Regions from separate parts of the Homo sapiens genome. Here region 2 is linked to region 1. The links are contacts of gene promoters, found by promoter capture Hi-C in human tissues and cell types (Jung and others, 2019). All regions are on one chromosome and are shown on one strand. Each heading gives the region's core, a stretch centred on a gene start or on the middle of the fragment in contact. The rest is flanking DNA. Distances are from core to core; before and after follow the strand shown.

What was found. Contacts are between HindIII fragments. The study calls those that stand out against the background at their distance.
Region 2: a contact is called between a fragment that was not itself captured here and the fragment with the promoter of CCDC140 in region 1, in 1 of the 25 tissues and cell types used here (pancreas).

The regions. Positions count from the first base shown.
Region 1 is chr2:222,296,897-222,299,554 of GRCh38, forward strand. It overlaps CCDC140 (CCDC140 long non-coding RNA), which reads left to right and starts at 1,251. Exons shown (of 2, transcript NR_161172.1): 1 at 1,251-1,477. PAX3 (paired box 3) reads right to left here and starts at 2,102. Exons shown (of 9, transcript NM_181458.4): 1 at 1,635-2,102; 2 at 82-317. The coding sequence starts at 1,719. RefSeq lists a promoter at 1,702-2,658 and a cis regulatory region at 2,120-2,157. The HindIII fragment of the contact is 9,119 bases long and covers 1-2,658 here.
Region 2 is chr2:222,244,887-222,247,544 of GRCh38, forward strand. All of the region lies in intron 4 of PAX3 (paired box 3), which reads right to left. Among named protein-coding and RNA genes, the nearest start is that of CCDC140, 52 kb to the right of the region's middle. The HindIII fragment of the contact is 4,267 bases long and covers 1-2,658 here.

The DNA.
Region 1 (2,658 bases), core at 1-2,500:
CAGCCGTTACCCCCCGCCCGGTCTTCCCCAACACAGGGGACCACAGTCTGGGAGCCAGGAGGGCAAGGCCCGCCCGCTCACCTTGGGCTTGCTGCCGCCGATGGCACCAGGACGTATGGAGCCAGTCTCCTGGTACCTGCACAGGATCTTGGAGACGCAGCCGTGGGACACGCGCAGCTGGCGCGAGATGACGCAGGGCCGGATGCCGTGGTGGGCCATCTCCACGATCTTGTGGCGGATGTGGTTGGGCAGCGGCCTGCCGTTGATAAAAACACCGCCGAGCTGGTTGACGCGGCCCTGGCCGAGGGGAGTGGACACTGTGGGAAGGTGAAAAAGAGAAGCAAGGGAAAAGTCACTGGAGGAAAATAAAAAGCAAAGAACAGCAGCACGTAATTTCGCAGTCTTCTGTCCTATCCTCATGTTACAGCACCGACGCTGAAACTGCTCGACATCGGACTCCCAGACCCAGACCTCCTTTCAATCACATTTGTTCAAATTATTCAGCAATATAGCGCATGTAATCTTGTGTAAAGACAGCAAATGGGGCAAAATAATTCTCCCCAGAGAAAGCGTCTTCCCCTTCGGGCCCGGGGAGTGGCAACTTAGGAGACCCTGCAGCTGGTAGAGAGTCTAGCTTGCTCTAGAAACAGCCTCCTGGCGAAGAGAAGTTCACCCAGGAGCTGGCCTTGATGAACTCTGCTCCCACCGATCCCTGTCCAATTGGGATCTCTCCCTTTCTAAGGGACTTGGGCCAGCTGATAGCCCTTGGGGTTTCTAGCCAAAAGTGCAGCAGCCAAGGGTCAAAGAGGGTCCAGAAAGGAGGCCCAAGCAGCAGTGCCTGTGTCACCTGTTACATCTTGGGACAGAGACCACAGCAGCGGCAGGGCTGTTCCTGGGCCCCCAGCCCCCATTCTTGCTCTGGGTGTTACATTCTACTCTAGGCTGGGTGTGAAGGGAGTGGGTGGCGGGGGCGATGAGCATCTCTGCTGGGGCGCCCTAACCTGGAAAACCATTGAAAACGGCTCAGGCTTGCAAGACTTCCTGCCTCCCCGGGATTCCCAGAATCTTCAAGTGGACGGAAAGGCGATTCCTAAACAAGTTATAGAAACTTCTAGATGCTATTTGAGATACATAGAATTCTAATTTATTTAATTATTCTAAAAATTCCAATCACAATGGCGCGGCGTTAGCCACCACAACTTTGCAGGGCAAAAAAAAAAAAATACTTCCTGAACTAACATATGTTTCACAAGTGTGGGCGCAGCCGGGACAATTTCGAGACAACTTCGAGACAATTTCGAATGGACAAATTGCGGAGAAGTTGCTTCTGCCGCTCAGAAGCCGGTTCACCTCCTTCTCCACCGCGGCATTTCCAAAACAACAGGGACAAGTCTCCCCGGCTCGCCGCAGGCCTGACCGCCCAGCTCCGCCAGGATTTGCAGAGAGCAGCGCGCTCCATTTGCAGAAAGGAAATCGAGTAGGTCCTCGCCCCCGACTGGTGCTTCTTGGGGTGTGGGGTGCCCAGGGAATGGGCTTCCTGGAAGCACCAAAGGAGCCTGCGGAGCCTGGGGATGGGGTGAGGCAGCCGGTCCCAGGCCCTGGGATCCAGGCGGCGCGCTGAGGCCCTCCCTTACCTTCCAGCGGGAACCCGCTACGCGGGTAGTTCTGCCCCGGGCCCGGCCGCATCATCCTGGGCACAGCGCCGGCCAGCGTGGTCATCCTGGGGGCAGCTTCGCTCGGAAATTATATCCAGGTGAAGGCGAAACGGAAAGGCGAGTGCGGCGCGGATGACCCTCGGGAACTATCCGGAGCGTGGAGAGCCCCTCCCCAAAACGGCTGGAGAGAGAGGGAGGGACGCGGGGAGGGGGGCTGTCGGTTCCTAGTCCAGAGGCCGGAGCTGGAACCCGGGAAAGGGGAGGACGGGGAGGCCCCGGAGTCCAGGATCCCGAGCCCAGGGCGGAAAAGTTTGGTACGAGTCTGGGCAAATGTTCCAGCGACTGGGGTCCCTGAAAAGGGGGCTCAGAGAGCCACGGCGAGCCGGGGAGCCTGGTGAGGCTGGAGCGCGGCCTGCCTGAGTCTCCTCCTGTGGTGACACCGAGTGCGGGGATCCGGGCTCGGGAGCATTTATTAGTTCTTTTACCCAAAGCTTGGTCAGGAGCCCTGAGCTGCGATTGGCCGACGGGTAGACCGTCCCGGGTGGCGGAGACACGCGCTGATTGGGCAACAGCGACCACTTTCTCTTCCCATCTCTGGTGGTGCCGAGGCCTCTGCTGGCCCCGAGGGGGACCCGCGCTGCGCCCCTTGCCCAGGAGAGAAGGTTGGCCCGGTGGAAACTGAGAGAGACAGCCCCAGGGAGATGGCAGTTGCTGAGGGCGGAGAAGTTCCTGTCTCTCTGTCTCTGTCTCTCTGTCTGTGTCACTCTGTGTGTGTGTGTGTGTGTGTGTGTGTGTGTGTGTGTGTGTGTGTGTGTGTCTTTCTCTGATCACTCTTTCCTTGACTTTCTATTTCCCTCTCTGTCTCTTTCTGTGCCTCTGTGTGTGTGTCTCGCTCAGCCTCTATTCCTCTTGTGATTTCCTGTGTCTCTCTCTATGTCTCATTTTTTCTACCTGTAGGTCTCGCTCTCATTTCTCTTGGCTTACTGCCACTGGAGGGGGCACA
Region 2 (2,658 bases), core at 65-2,564, 52 kb before region 1:
CCTGTAATCCCAGCACTTTGAGAGGTTGAGGTGGGCAGGTAACTTGAGGCCAGAGGTATGAAACCAGCCTGGCCAATGAGGCAAAATCCCGTCTCTAATGAAGATACAAAAATTAGCTGGATATGATGGTGCACACCTGTAATCCCAGCTATTCAGGAGGCTGAGGCACGAGAATCACTTGAAACTGGGAGGCAGAGTTTGCAGTGAGCTGAGATCATGCCACTGCACTCCAACCTGGACAACAGAACGAGACTGTCTCAAAAAAAGAAAAAGAAAAGAAATAGAATAAAATTAAGGTAGCTATGAAAGTAAATAAATTCAGTGCTCCCAAATACCTCAGGGCCTAAACAGGAAGGCCAAGCTTAACAAAAGTCAGGCAACCAGCCTAAAAGAAATTAAGCACATGCCAACATTTAGTTTGATTTTCATGGGGAAAACCTGAATATATTTGCTTGGAGGCAAATTCTTGTCTTCTCTATGTCTACTGATATGGATCTGCACAGGCAAAACAAAGTATAATTGTGAGCAATTCACCTTCTGATCATTTTTATTAGTGTCCACAACCAATGTGAATAGGTCAGGTACCCAACACCAGAAAAACACAAGAATTTCTTCAGTAGCAGGTTTCTGCATGAATTATTGGACAACTGCCTTTCTTTTCCACATTGCCTTTTCAGGGACAATCTTGCAGAACTGGAGGGAAATGAATAAGGAAGTGATATGTGGGAGAGAGTAAAGGAGGGGAGGAGAGAAGAGAAAATAACTGAAGAGAATAAAAGAGGGGAGAAAGAAGAGAAGAGAGGCCAGGCACTGTGGCTCACACCTGTAAACCCAGCACTTTGGGAGGCCAAGGCAAGTGGATCACCTGAGGTCAGGAGTTTGAGAACAGCCTGGCCAACATGGTGAAACCCCATCTCTACTAAAAATACAAAAAAAAAAAAAAAATTAGCCGGGTGTAGTGGGGCACACCTGTAATCCCACTTACTCCGGAGGCTAAAGCAGGAGAATCATTTGCACTCTGGAGGCAGAGGTTGCAGTGAGTTGAAATCATGCCACTGCATTCCAGCCTGGGTGACAGAGCGAGACTCTGTCTCAAAAAGAGACAGAGAGAGAGAGAGAAGGATCAACTTTCCTTTCTAGCAAAGAAGGATAGAAAATAAAGCAATAGGTGGTTTCAGAGTCAATGGGTTCACCATGACCACTTTTTCCCCAAAATTCTCCTCTGACAAGGCTTTCTGAGTTAGGAAAGCCTGCTCTGAGGGACTGAAGTTGAGGCTGAGGATCTGACAATGTGTCCTAATCCCTGGCAACTTTAAATAAATTAAAGCTTTTCCTGGGTAAAAACCAAAAGTAGCCCCACTCGTTCTTCCCACCCACACCAGCCCATGGTTTTAACTGGAAATCATCCCATCACTATGTCAAGACAGATGCCAACATTTAAAGAAACTACTGCCAATTCAGTTCAAACTCAAGCTCATTCTTCACCACCCAATTTACATGTTCGTTCCTAAGAAAAGCTTTTTGAGCAAAATATGTTTCTTATTTCATTGTGCGTTTTTGTTTTCATACTACAAAAGTACATTACATTATAAAATAAAATTTGAGCAATGTCTAAAAATAAAAAATAATGATAGTCCCAGAACCAAAAAGAATTGCTATTGATTTTAAATTAGAGAATTATATTATACAGATGGATGGGTGGATGGATGGATGGATGGATGGATCAATAGATCAATAGATAGATATAGACAGATCCAACTCCTTTGCTGTGTTTCTTCGCATTCTTTTTTTCTGTGTAATTATTAACAAAATATAAGTTTTTAAAAACTTTCTTAATTACACATTAAAAAGGTAAATAAAACTCTTTCCTCCAGCAAGTTTTCAAGTGAATTTATCCTTGTTATTTTAGCAATAGCACAAGTTGCTTGGTTAATAGTATTGTTTATATTTGAAAATTTAACTTTCTTAAAGTTGTTTTCTGAGATTATAAAGCACTACTCCTTTTGATTTGTTCATATTTACCTGTGAATGCATTTGGATGGCCAGATATGAAAATTTGCCAATTTCTCTATATGAGGGCTGAGACAAATGCACATATATTCTCATTGTCTTTGTATAACTCAGGTGTCTAATTCATCCAAACAAACATTGAACCCACTTATACATCTCTCCTTCTATTCTCACAATAAGTTAGCCACAAGTTTAAGAAAGCTTGTCCAGGGCTGGGTCATCAGAGATTGTTGTCCTTACAGCATCCCTCCCAAGTCCATGTCTTTATTCCTATTCAGGCCTCAATGAAGTAGGAGGGGGCTCTTCAAATATTTTCTTCTTTCTGATAGAAGAAGCTAGAGCAGGATGAGAGTGTGAATGGCTGAGTTTAAGCCTCTGCACAGAGAGAGTGACAAGAGAAGAAAACCAGTGGAAGCACAGGAAGACAAATCCCAGGTAACTAACAATGTAACTAAATTGCAGGGAGAAAATTAGAAATAGTTTTTTAAAATTTTTTCCCACTATTAGTCAGAGACGTTCATGTTTTGTGCTAAATGTGCTGCTTAGCATAGAATTTTAAAACCTAGAAATCACTTTAAATATCAGCAGAAAACTCTTTACTCTAGATTTGAAAAACTCAAGAAACAAAAACTGAGTTTCAGAGGAATG